Linked DNA regions of Homo sapiens: region 1 is linked to region 2. The links are contacts of gene promoters, found by promoter capture Hi-C in blood cells and fetal thymus (Javierre and others, 2016). All regions are on one chromosome and are shown on one strand. The core of a region is centred on a gene start or on the middle of the fragment in contact, and the rest is flanking DNA. Distances in the headings are between cores, read along the strand shown. Region 1 overlaps CFAP46 (cilia and flagella associated protein 46). Region 2 holds the start of TUBGCP2 (tubulin gamma complex component 2).

What was found. The method cuts DNA at HindIII sites, captures the fragments that hold promoters and counts their contacts. A CHiCAGO score of 5 or more calls a contact.
Region 1: a contact is called between a fragment that was not itself captured here and the fragment with the promoter of TUBGCP2 in region 2, in 1 of 17 cell types (M2 macrophages). The highest score is 5.0, in M2 macrophages.

What each region holds. Positions count from the first base shown.
Region 1 is chr10:132,929,767-132,936,370 of GRCh38, reverse strand. CFAP46 (cilia and flagella associated protein 46) reads left to right here. Exons shown (of 58, transcript NM_001200049.3): 8 at 1,509-1,619; 9 at 6,567-6,604. Among named protein-coding and RNA genes, the nearest start is that of CFAP46, 9.5 kb to the left of the region's middle. RefSeq lists enhancers at 4,369-4,438, 5,898-6,017. The HindIII fragment of the contact is 5,297 bases long and covers 2,203-6,604 here.
Region 2 is chr10:133,306,379-133,312,621 of GRCh38, reverse strand. TUBGCP2 (tubulin gamma complex component 2) reads left to right here and starts at 3,750. Exons shown (of 18, transcript NM_006659.4): 1 at 3,750-3,799. It overlaps ZNF511-PRAP1 (ZNF511-PRAP1 readthrough), which reads right to left and starts at 3,708. Exons shown (of 9, transcript NM_001396060.1): 1 at 3,526-3,708; 2 at 3,159-3,232; 3 at 2,645-2,846; 4 at 2,334-2,458; 5 at 781-906. The coding sequence starts at 3,678. ZNF511 (zinc finger protein 511) reads right to left here and starts at 3,708. Exons shown (of 6, transcript NM_145806.4): 1 at 3,526-3,708; 2 at 3,159-3,232; 3 at 2,645-2,846; 4 at 2,334-2,458; 5 at 781-906. The coding sequence starts at 3,678. RefSeq lists enhancers at 3,223-3,517, 2,925-3,620, 4,344-4,573 and a silencer at 3,264-4,113. The HindIII fragment of the contact is 14,798 bases long and covers 1-6,243 here.

The DNA of each region.
Region 1 (6,604 bases), core at 3,602-6,101, 380 kb after region 2:
GTGCCGAGGGGAGTGAGGAGATCACAGTGTGTTTGGATGTGAGGGGAGTGAGGAGATCGCAGTGTGTTTGGGTGCCGAGGGGAGTGAGGAGATCACAGTGTGTTTGGATGTGAGGGGAGTGAGGAGATCGCAGTGGGTTTGGGTGCCGAGGGGAGTGAGGAGATCACAGTGTGTTTGGGGGCTGAGGGGAGTGAGGAGATCACAGTGTATTTGGGGGCCGGGGGGAGTGAGGATATCACAGTGTGTTTGGGTGCCGAGGGGAGTGAGGAGATCACAGTGTGTTTGGATGCCGAGGGGAGTGAGGAGATCACAGTGTGTTTGGATGTGAGGGGAGTGAGGAGATCACAGTGTGTTTGGGTGCCGAGGGGAGTGAGGAGATCACAGTGTGTTTGGATGTGAGGGGAGTGAGGAGATCGCAGTGTGTTTGGGTGCCGAGGGGAGTGAGGAGATCACAGTGTGTTTGGATGATGAGGGGAGTGAGGAGATCACGGTGGGTTTGGGTGCTGAGGGCTGTGAGGAGATCACAGTGTGTTTGGGTGCCGAGGGGAGTGAGGAGATCACAGTGTGTTTGGATGTGAGGGGAGTGAGGAGATCACAGTGTGTTTGGGTGCTGAGGGCTGTGAGGAGATCACAGTGTGTTTGGGTGCCGAGGGGAGTGAGGAGATCACAGTGTGTTTGGATGTGAGGGGAGTGAGGAGATCTCAGTGTGTTTGGGTGCTGAGGGGAGTGAGGAGATCACAGTGTGTTTGGGTGCCGAGGGGAGCGAGGAGATCACAGTGGGTTTGGGTGCTGAGGGGAATGAGAAGATCGCAGTGTGTTTGGGTGCCGAGGGGAGTGAGGAGATCACAGTGTGTTTGGGTGCTGAGGGGAGTGAGGAGATCACGGTGTGTTTGGGTGCTGAGGGGAGTGAGGAGATCGCAGTGTGTTTGGGTGCTGAGGGGAATGAGAAGATCTCAGTGTGTTTGGGTGCTGAGGGGAGTGAGGAGATCACAGTGTGTTTGGGTGCCAAGGGGAGTGAGGAGATCACAGTGGGTTTGGGTGCTGAGGGGAATGAGAAGATCGCAGTGTGTTTGGGTGCTCAGGGGAGTGAGGAGATCACAGTGGGTTTGGATACCAAGGGGAGTGAGGAGATCTGAGGTATTTGTGTCCTATGGGCAGCATCCCTGGGAGAGAGCAATGCTGGCCCAGGTCCTATCGCCGTTGAGCAGAGAGAGTGCCCCACATTTCCCGTGTTTGGCTCCTATGTGGGGTGCTGACTCTGGCGAGGGGTCTGGGCCCTCTGAGTGTTTCTATTCCAGCCTTGTAGGAAGGCCGGGCATCATGGAGGGAAGGAGGACCAGAAGGGGTGAAAAGTCATCTCAGGAATTTGAGGAAAGAAGGCAGGAGGGGTTATTTTCAGTCTCCTCTTCAGTGAGAAACACAATTTCATACACGCAGAGTTTCTCTTAGAAGAATTTGAATAAATCTGACAGGATCTTGTGCTGAATTACTCTCTGAATTATTTCTAGAAAAGCGGAGCAAAATGATTTACCAGGTGACATCAGTGTCATTCTGAGGAAGGCCTACAGACACTTAGGTCATTACAACCACCAGCGCTTTCCCTCTATCAGTGAAGAAAAGTAAGTGTTTGTATTTTTCCAATATCACATCTTCATAATCGTTGTACAAAATTTAGCAGGCACTGAAAAATGTGAAAAAATGTAAAACAAGCAACTAGAACCACCTTTGCAAAAGCCAGCCATTGTGGAGGTTTTAGTAAGGTCCTGTCTGGTCTTTTGTGGCCTGAGATTTGTACTGTCTTGCGAATACTTTCATACCCTACTTTTTAACATGAGTTTAGTTTGTAGGCATATGGATGGTTAGGTCACTGTGGCACCTCTCACGGTTCTGGTGGCTGCGTGGCGTTCCATGGGTGGGAAAACACAGGTTTCTCTGGAGCCTTTTTCAGGCTGGTTTGTTTGGATTCTGTGCTTTCTCGAATCCTCCAGGCACTGTTGAGAGTTTGGGATAAGTCCTGGGCTGGTATCCTGGAAGCAGGAAGCTGAGCCCGAGGCTTTCAGAAGCACATGGAAAGCACTGGCTGGTTTTGCCTTCGTGGGCACGGGGTGGGTGGGGGGGTTTGTCCCCTGCCCCTGGAGCGATTTTGTCACCTCCTTAGTAGCACTGTGTATATTTTTAAGAAAATGGGAAACAAGTAAAGCTTGTTGATATGGGAGGCTGAAATTATCTGTTTGGTTTTCTGGTGGCCATGGGAAACTAACAGAGAAGGTGTATTAGTTATCTGCAGCTGCGTAACAAGTACCCACAAACTTAGGAGCTTGAAACAACACAGGTCCATGACCTCACCGTGTCTGCGGTTCAGGTACCCGGGCACAGGTCCATGACCTCGCTGTGTCTGCGGGATGGGAACCTGGGCACAGATCCATGACCTCCCTGTGTCTGTGGGACGGGAACCTGGGCACAGCAGCAGCCACAGTGTTGACTGGTCTGGGGTCTTTTCTCGAGGCTGGACTGGGGAAGGGGTCCCCCAAGCTCACAGGGGTGTTGAGAGGACTCGGTTCCTGTGGGTTCAGGCCTCGGTCCTGGTGGGACAGCTTGCTTCATCAGTGCTAGCGAGGGGCGCCAGACGCCAGCACGTTCGTGGTCTCATCAGGGAGGTGGCACCTGCCCAACATTGAGGTCTCCGCTGCTCAGCTGCAGGCTCCTCGAGGGAGGGGCCCCAGGACCGCAGGGTGGCTGCTGGGCCACAGCCTGGGCCGCAGGGGCACAGGGCCAGCCTGCTGGTGGGTCTGTTTTTGGGAGGGGTATGAGTGCATGTGTACATGGGGATGTGTGTGGATATATTGTTCTGGAAGGAGTTTACGTCTTCCATCAGACCCTCCAGGTTGTTCTAACTGAAGTCCGGCCAAGCGTGGCCGTGGCCCTGGCCGAGCATCCCCTTCTGTGGCCAGGCGCTCCGACGAGAGGTCTTGGGACCAGTGTAAATAGCCCTGTTCCGAGGTCTGTCCACAGGCGGCATTCTCAGGCACTTTTACGGATTCTCTCTTCCCGACCTGCCCAGCAGGCCTGTGCGCTGGAGCTCAGGTAGGACGGAGAGGCCAGTGTTGTGATGCCAGGCCTGCCAGGACCTGAGAGGGCCCAACAGCAGAGCAGGGGGAGGAGGAGGTGGGCAGGGACGAGGGGCGGAGAAGCGTCCGCACCCCACCCCAAAGCAGCCTCCTGCCCACAGCTACCCAGGGATGCAGGGAGGATGGTCACACCACACTGAGGGCCGAGTTGAGTCGCTGCCAGCAGCCGCCAATTGTGTTCCCGGTAAGACTGTGATTACTCCCCGGGAAACAGCAGAAGACATGTAGACCTGCTCCCCAAGGACATTTGGCAATGTCTGGAGACACTGTGGGCGGCTGCTCTTCATCTAGCGGGCAGCTGCAGGGACACAATGGACAGGCTCCTCCTGGAAGAGAGGCGTCCCGGAGGGAAACCCTGGCCTAATCTCCACCGGAGGAGCGTGATCCTGATCCCTGCAGCTCAACAGGAAGCCTTAGAGTGGAGAGCTGAGAGCACCCGCTGTGCTCTTTCTTGAAGTTGTCTGGAGCACTGTGGGTCCTTGCATGTGGATACAAATTTTAGCCTCAGCCTGTCAGTTTCTGCAAAGACCCTGATTGGTGACTGCAGGTGCGGTTGGCGGCACGCCTACGGGCTTGTCGCATGGTAGGAAGGCCCAGGCTCTGTGTGGGGAGCGTGGGGAAGCCCAGGCTCTGTGTGGGGAGGAGGAAGCTGCAGGATCTATGTGGGGAGGAAGAAGGCCCAGGCTCTGTATGGGGAGCGTGGGAAGACCCAGGCCCTGTGTCAGGAGTGTTGGGAAGGTTCAGCCTCTGTGTGAAGAGGTGGAAGGCCTAGGCTCTGTGTGAGGAGTGTGGGGAGGCCCAGGCTCTGTGTGGCGACAAGGAAGGCCCAGCCTCTGTGTGTGGAGGAGGAAGGCCCAGCCTCTGCGTGGGGAGGAGGAAAGCCCAGGCTCTATGTGGGGAATGTGGGGAGGCCCAGGCTCTGTGTGGAGAGGAGGGAGGCCCAGGCTCTGTGTGGAGAGGAGGGAGGCCCAGGCTCTGTGTGGGGAGGAGGAAGGCCCAGGCTCTGTGTGGGGAGTGTAGGGAGACCCAGGCTCTGTGTGAGAAGTGTGAGGAGGCCTAGGCTCTGTGTGAGAAGTGTGGGGAGGCCTAGCCTCTGTGTGGGGAAGGCCCAGGCTCTGTGTGGGGAGGAGGAAGGCCCAGGCTCTGTGTGGGGAGGATGAAGGTCCAGGCTCTGTGTGGGGAGCAGGAAGGCCCAGGCTTTGTGTGAGAAGTCTGGGGAGGCCCAGCCTCTGTGTGGGGAGTGTGGGGAGGCCCAGGCTCTGTGTGGCGACAAGGAAGGCCCAGCCTCTGTGTGTGGAGGAGGAAGGCCCAGCCTCTGCGTGGGGAGGAGGAAAGCCCAGGCTCTATGTGGGGAATGTGGGGAAGGCCCAGGCTCTGTGTGGGGAGTGTAAGGAGGCCCAGGCTCTGTGTGGGGAAGAGGAAGGCCCAGGCTCTGTGTGGGGAGGAGGAAGGTCCAGGCTCTGTGTGGCAAGGAGGAAGGCCCAGGCTCTGCGTGGGGAGTGTGGGGAGGCCCAGGCTCTGTGTGGAGAGGAGGGAGGCCCAGGCTCTGTGTGGGGAGGAAGAAGGCCCAGGCTCTGTGTGGGGAGTGTAGGGAGGCCCAGGCTCTGTGTGAAAAGTGTGGGGAGGCCTAGCCTCTGTATGGGGAAGGCCCAGGCTCTGTGTGGGGAGGAGGAAGGCCCAGGCTCTGTGTGAGAAGTATTGGGAGGCCTAGCCTCTGTGTGGGGAGGGTGGGGAGGCCCAGGCTCTGTGTAGAGAGGAGGAAGGCCCAGGCTCTGTGTGAGGAATGTGGGGAAGGCCCAGTCTCTGAGTGGAGAGTGTGGGGAGGCCCAGGCTCTTTTTGGGGAGGAGGAAGGCCCAGGCTCTGTGTGGGGAGGAGGAAAGCCCAGGCTCTGCGTGGGGAGTGTGGGGAAGGCCCAGGCTCTGCGTGAGGAGTGTGGGGAAGGCCCAGGCTCTGCGTGGGGAGTGTGGGGAAGGCCCAGGCTCTGCGTGGGGAGTGTGGGGAAGGCCCAGGCTCTGTGTGGGGAGTGTGGGGAAGGCCCAGGCTCTGTGTGGGGAGGAGGAAGGCCCAGGCTCTGTGTGGCGAGGAGGAAGGTCCAGGCTCTGCGTGGGGAGTGTGGGGAAGGCCCAGGCTCTGCGTGGGGAGTGTGGGGAGGCCCAGGCTCTGTGTGGAGAGGAGGGAGGCCCAGGCTCTGTGTGGGGAGTGTGGGGAGGCCCAGGTTTTGTTTGTGGAGGAGGAAGGCCCAGGCTCTGTGTGGGGAGTGTAGGGAGGCCCAGGCTCTGTGTGAGAAGTGTGGGGAGGCCTAGCCTCTGTGTGGGGAAGGCCCAGGCTCTGTGTGAGGAGTGTGGGGAAGGCCCAGGCTCTGCGTGGGGAGTGTGGGGAAGGCCCAGGCTCTGTGTGAGGAGTGTGGGGAAGGCCCAGGCTCTGCGTGGGGAGTGTGGGGAAGGCCCAGGCTCTGTGTGGGGAGTGTGGGGAAGGCCCAGGCTCTGTGTGGGGAGGAGGAAGGCCCAGGCTCTGTGTGGCGAGGAGGAAGGTCCAGGCTCTGCGTGGGGAGTGTGGGGAAGGCCCAGGCTCTGCGTGGGGAGTGTGGGGAGGCCCAGGCTCTGTGTGGAGAGGAGGGAGGCCCAGGCTCTGTGTGGGGAGTGTGGGGAGGCCCAGGTTTTGTTTGTGGAGGAGGAAGGCCCAGGCTCTGTGTGCGGAGTGTGGGGAAGGCCCAGGCTCTGTGTGGGGAGGAGGAAGGCCCAGGCTCTGTGTGGGGAGTATGGGGAAGGCCCAGGCTCTGTGTGGAGAGTGTGGGGAAGTCCCAGGCTCTGTGTGGGAAGAAGGAAGGCTCAGGCTCTGTGTGGAGAGTGTAGGGAAGGCCCAGGCTCTGTATGGGGAGGAGGAAGGCCCAGGCTCTGTGTGGGGAGTGTGGGGAGTCCCATGCTCTGTGTGGGGAGGAGGAAGGTTCGGGCTCTGTGTGGGGAGTGTGGGGAGTCCCATGCTCTGTGTGGGGAGGAGGAAGGTTCGGGCTCTGTGTGAAGAGGAACCTGCCTCTTCCCTGCATGGCCTCTGGCCTCGCTGAGCTGCAGATGTGGGTCTGAGCTGCTGTGCAATGCAATGGCTTTGAGTACGCATGTCGTCATCCCTGTGCTTCTCCTGGGTTCTGCACATGACCTGAAGCCTGGAGAGCGAGGAGCAGGGTGTCCAGTAGGGACGTGGCCCTGGGCAGCCTCCACAACTGTGCTGGCCCCGGGAGACTGCTGGGCTCCGGTGCTGTAGCTTGAAGCCCTGCTGGGGCCTCCCCACAGGGCTTCTGTTCTAATTAACTTAATTTTATTTATTTCTTATCCTACCTTTATTTCCTGCTTCTGCTTGAACGGGGGACATGGATTCTCGCCTGCAGCCATGTTTCCTGTGCCCCCTATTGAGCCGGTGCTGGCTGGTTTGTTTGTTTGCAGAATGCTTTTGCTTTTTGAATTGGCGCGTTTTTCCTTGA
Region 2 (6,243 bases), core at 2,501-5,000:
CCTAGTTCCTGTGGGGGGTCCCCGCCAGCCACCAACGCACACCCGCTGGGAAGAACTCCGCAGAGAGGGCGGCTCCTGCCAAGCCCTCTGGGGCTGAGACTTCCTGCTACCCCATGTCCATTCCATGAAAACCCCTACTGTCCCAGCCCCCCGGGGCTCATTCACAGGCCAAAGTCCAGGCATCTGTAAGGAGGGTGCAGGGAACATTAAGTTCATCGTTCCACCTGTTTGGAGTCTTTGGTGATGTTTTTCCCCACTTGTTCACCGTTTTTCCCAAATTAATTTAAAATCAACTTTAACTAGAAAGGCAGACGGCACAGGTGACGCTAGAAAGGCAGACAGTACAGGTCATGCTAGAAAGGCAGACGGCACAGGTCATGCTAGGAAGGCAGACGGCACAGGTGACGCTAGAAACGCAGACGGCACAGGTGACGCTAGAAACGCAGACGGCACAGGTGATGCTATTAAGGCAGACGCCTGGGTTGTGACTGAAGCAACTGCAAGTGAGACTCTTTCCATCCCACTCAGACAATGAGGAAAAGTGAGTGGTGCTTGGCATTCCTGCGCTTCAATGGCTCAAAAACAGAGTATGCGAGAGAAACTAAGTTATTCACAGGACCTGAGATATCTGGACTTTCTTCTCTGGCGGAAGCCGATTTTCTTACCCAGCGTTACCTTTCTGAATTCAGTATGAGAAGAGCTGCGGCCCAGGTGCAGCCCAGAATCCTCAGCACCGAACACATGTTGAGAACGGGTTTCAGAAAGAGCTCAGACACTGACCTATGTCTGTAGATCCGCCTCTCACCTGCCGGTGCAGGGGAGGCTGCCACAGGCTCAGAGCAGATTTCCATGGCCTCCCCTTCTGACCGCTCTCCACTGTCCCCTGGGGCTTCTGCTGAGGCTGGGCTGCGGGGAGAGAGCAGTGAGTAACTGCCCTGCACGGCTCCCACAGCCCCTGTGTTCCCCAGAAATGAACATGCAAGAAAGAAACTGGATTTCCCTGTAAGTAGCATATTTTCTTACTATTTTGGCATAGTCTGATTTTATAGTGTGGTTTAAGATACTGGGAAAAGGAGAATGATTACAGCAAGGCCATTGTTTATATAATAGAGTCTGCATCTTATAAACTTAACTGTAACAATCATACTTTTTTTTGAAAATAGTATTTTTATGGTGCCAACGGTGCCACGGGTCTTTTTATGAGTGTGAGAAATTTGCTAAAGTTAACCAGAGACTATAAACTAGTCTCTTCCATAATACGAATGTCTTAATCCAGCATTGCACGGTTTTTCTCCTTAAAATGATCCCTCGGAAAGGAGACAATTACTTTACACGTAAGTCTTTGTAAAGCCTCCCACATTGCAGTGGGTTCTCCCAGTTCTTTTATTTTAAAGAGCAAATTACTACTTGAGAAAATGTAGAGTCTGAAAAACTCTGATCAATAAAATTGTAGATGATTATGAAAGTTCACCTCATCAGTTAAAAAAAGAAGAAATATAACACAATTTAAAAATTGTTCCGGCTGGACATGGTAGCTCATACCTACAATCTCAGCACTTTGGGAGGCTGAGGCAGATGGACGGCTTGAGCCCAGGAGTTCACGACCAGACTGGGCAACATAGCAAGACCCTGTCTCTACAAAAAATAGAAAATTTTGCCGAGTGCGGCGATGCGTGTTGGTAGTCCTAGCACTTTAGGAGGCTGAAGTGGGAGAATCGCTTGAGCCTGAGAAGTGGAGGTTGCAGTGAACCTACATCACACCACTACACTCCAGCCTGGGTGTCAGAGCAAGACCCTGTCTCAAAAAAAAAAAAAGATTGTTCCTGGAAGTATTTCCCAGAGTGCACTCTAGGCAGGAACATGTTAATCAACAGCTTTGTCATCAAGTTCATATGCGCACAACCAACCAGGACAAAAGGAAAGCCAGGGCTGCATGATGTGTGAGCACGGCCGACGGCTGCAGGAGGTACAGACACGGCCCCGAGGGGTGTGAGTGCGGATGACCACGGCCGACTGCTGCAGGAGGTACAGGCATGGCCCAGAGGGGTGTGAGTGCGGAGGCGCTGCGCCCGCTCATTCCCACACCCCCTCTGCTGCCTCCACCGGCACAGAGCTGGGCAGCCAGGGGCTCCCCTCCAGCCTCCCTTCGGCAGGGTGGCCGCTGGCACAACCACCTGTAGCTGTGTTGCCAGGGCTTCAGGTACCTGCAGGTGAACACCCCATTAGGTGACACACAAGTGCTTAATAAGTCTGACCGTCTATGCATTCCGGCTAGTTGGAAACCTTTTCCTAAAATCAAAAGCAGACACGTGCTGAGCCTGGCGGCTCCCTACCTTCTGCTTTTCTTTGGCTTATCAAACCGGAAGTCCGCGGGGTACAGGTGCATCCTCACCATGTGATCCTTCCGGTCTCTGCTGGTCTTGAACTTCTCTGTGCAGCCTTCTACCAAGCACTGATACTGAAATGGAGACCGTGTCACCTCCCTCTGACCCCTGGCCCTCCCCCACCGCCATGCCCCCGTAGCAGAGCTGCCAAGGGCGGAAAGGTGTCCCCGGCCTTGCCCGAGCACCCGAGAGCTGGGGGCAGCACTCTGAGCCCATCACCAATGGGGGGTGGCCTCGGCGGCTGTGCAGTTGTCACCCACCATGTCCTGCCTCTCAGACAGGATCTGGAAGAGCGAATCGTGCCACTCCAGGATGTGGGCGTCCAGCAGGTGTCCGGAAGGGAAGGCCCGCTTGCAAAAGGAGCAAACATTTCCGTGCAGCGTGTGGTAGTGGTGCTCGTAGTCGTCCAGGGCATCGAACACCTGGCAGCAGCCGGCCACCTGGCAGGCAAACGCGGGCACCCTGCCAAGGAGACGTGCTTCAGGAGCCCTTCCTCCGGTGCGAGGAACCAAGCTGGACTTTCTGCACAGTTTCCCTTTGAGACGTCCAATAAAGCCCCTATGCATCTTTTGCAATCCCAAACCCTCTTTTTATGAATTAAGTTTCACAAACAGGCTAGGTGGTGGAAGAGTCGGCCACGCCAAAGCTGGACAGGCACAGCGCCTCGGTGGGGCGGCCGCACATGGAAGAGCGGCAGCACAGCCCCAGGGACCAGGCACCGGTCAGGGAGGCGGCGCAGGAGTAGCACTGGCTAGGCACTGCCCATTCGCTTACCTGGGCTTCTCAGGCACGTCGGCCACCTGCATGATCACGTCCTGGAGGTAGAGGTGGCGCTGCACGTCCCCATCCTGCAGGAAAAGTGCGCCGTGGGCGGGGCCAGGTGACTCGCGGCACGCCCACCGCGTCAGGCCTCGCCCACACCCGTGGCCCCAGTCATCCCGCGCTCCGGTCCCGCCCCACAGCCTCAGGCCCCGCCCACTCCACGTTCCGGCCCCGCCCCACCACCTCAGGTCCCGCCTGTCCCAGGCTCCGGCCCCGCCCCGCAGTCGTAGGCCCCTCCCACTCCAGGCTCCGGCCCCGCCTCGCCGCCGTAGGCCCCACTGGATCCTACAACTACTTTTTCCCTCTTTTGCTCACGCACCTCGAAGAACTGGTGCTCCCGCGGGAAGCGCACGGGGCGCGCAACGAAGCGAAAGGGCGCGGCCCCAGCCGCGGGATCCCGCTCTACAGGCAGCGGCTCCGCCGCCCCGGGCCCCGCAGCGAGGCGGGCGCACAGCGCGGGGGGCAACTGCATCACCCCGGGCGCGGGCGGGCGCAGCCTGTCGGCCACCGTCCGCGAGCCGAGCCGGACGTGACGTCACGCTCACTTCCGCCGCCGTCGGGGGCTGCGCGGGGGCTGTGGCTCCGGGACTGCGGTGAGTCCTGGCCGAACGCGGGCGCGGGCGTGATGAGGGGGTTGGGGGACTGCCAGGCCCGGGGGGGCCCACGAGGCGACGGGGCTGGCGGGACGCGGCTCTTCCCGCGCGCTCCCTCTGGCTGTGCAGCGGTCCCCGAACTCTGGGGCCGAAGCCCTTCGGGCCTGCACCGGCCAGGCCAGCGTCTTGCCCCGCGGCCCGACACTCAGCCGGGGCGGGGCGGAGCGGGCCTCCGGGTCGTCCCGGGTGTCCCCTCCCAGCCCTGGGAAGCCGGGTCGCAGGTCCCCCTCTCGCACGCCCTCTCCCGTCCGCCTTGCCCCGCCTGTCGTCTCCCGCTGCAGTCCCTGGATCTTGTTCCCTCTAAACCAGTCGCGAACTGGAGCCAAAGTGACTCCAGTTTTATTGTAACCGTTTTTAATTTAAAGCCCTTGGGTGACTTCCCGTTACTTTAGTTCAAAGGCCCTTTCCTGGTTTGTCGGGGTCCTGTCGACCTCTCCAGTCCCCGCAGCTCCCGTGAAACACAGGACCTGTGCTAGGTGCTCAGGGCGTGTGGGGGAAGGCATCACAGGAGGGCGCGGCAGCCTTGTAGGAGAGACAGACGTCAGAGTAAAGAGTCACCTAATTAAAATGGTGAATGACAACACACGCGGGAAGCAGTGGACGCTTCAGATCTACTGCAGAGAATGGGCCCAGTGGCGGATAGAGGCTTTAGCTTTCTCGTCTGTCACCCAGGCTGGAGTGCAATGGTGCGATCATAGCTGATAGATCGCTGCGGCCTCAAATTCTTGGGCTCAAGTGGTCCTGCTGCCTCAGCGTTCCAAAGAGCTGTAACTGCAGGCGTGAGCCACCATGCCTGCCCCTGTACTTTTTCCATGTTTAGATACACAAATATCTCTGTGTTACAGTTGTCTAGTGTTCAGCACCGCCACCTGCTGGGCAGGTTTGTAGCCCACGAGCAAGAGGCTCCTCTAGGTGGTTTAGGTGCATTGTAGGCCGTACACCATCCAGGTCTGCGAGTGACTCTGATGATCGCACAGAAGGAAATCATGTAACCATACGTTTCTCTTTTTTTCTTTTGGAGATAGTGTCTCTCTCTGTCGCTCAGGCTGGAGTGCAGTGGCGCGATCTGGGCTCACTGCAACCTCTGCCTGCTGGGTTCAAGCGATTCTCGTGCCTCAGCTTCCCAAGTAGCTGGGATTACAAGTGTGCGCCACCAGGCTTGGCCAATTTTTGTATTTTTGGTAGAGACTGGTTTTCACCATGTTGGCCAGGCATTTCTCAGAATGTTGAGTGATGCATGACTGTACTTTCTGTCTCTGTAAAAGCCTTTGGGCTCTTGACATTTTCCACAAGTTGTAAAATAACATTTTTCAAACCAATTTGTACAGTTAGCTTTGAGCTCTCAACAGAGACTCTTTTTCACGTCCCTCTGTGTTTTAATCACTTGGAGTGTGTGCTCACTAGGAGTGTGTGCCCCGCTTGTCCGTGGTGGAGTGTGACATGCGTGCATTGCTTCCCTCAGCACGCGTCCCTGCGGTAGCTCACAGCCTCTGTGAGGAGGACGTCAGTCCCTCCCAGTCACAGTTGCTGGGCCTGTCAGTTTGTGTGATTAATAGTAAGAATTCAGGAGCATCAAGAAGGCCAAGTCAGCGGCCATGGCTAGACGTTCCTCCAAGAAGCAGCCACGGCTAGATGTTCCTCAGAGCTGTGTTTTCAGTGGGACGCTGTGCATTTCTGGCGGGACAGCTCTGTTGATGATTAGCATCCCCCGCCCTTGCCCTCTAAGTAGCGAGAGCACCCTTCCATGACCGTGACACCCCAGAGTTGCCCTAGGACTTTTCCAAAGGTCTTCTGGGGGGAGGGACTCTGTGCGAGTACGGGCTGCCCTCTTGGAGGCCCGGTCCCCACATTCAGGGAGAGCAGCAGGCTCCTCATGGGATGAACACTCATGACGTGCGGGCATCTGTGCTTCTATTTCTAGAAGAGATACGAAGTTTCCTGAAGGTAGTTTTTATTTTTTTTATTATTATTTTTTGAGACAGAGTCTCGCTCTGTTGCCCAGGCTGGAATGCAGTGGTGTGATCTTGGCTCACTGCAAGCTCCGCCTCTCGGGTTCATGCCATTCTCCTGCCCCAGCCTCTGGAGTATCTGCGACTACAAGCGCCCGCCACCACCCCCGGCTAATTTTTTTGTATTTTTAGTAGAGATGGGGTTTCACCATGTTAGCCAGGATGGTCTCGATCTCCTGACCTCATGATCCGCCCACCTTGGCTTCCCAAAGTGCTGAGATTACAGGCGTGAGCCACCGTGCCCAGCATGTAGTTTTTAAATAAATACTCAGATGATTTTTCTTCATAGGTAGCTTTCTCTCCTGACTTGTGTCTGGTGGGGGAGTGCTTTGTTTTGGTGGCAAATGGTTTTCTTGCCACCTAGCATGACCAAAG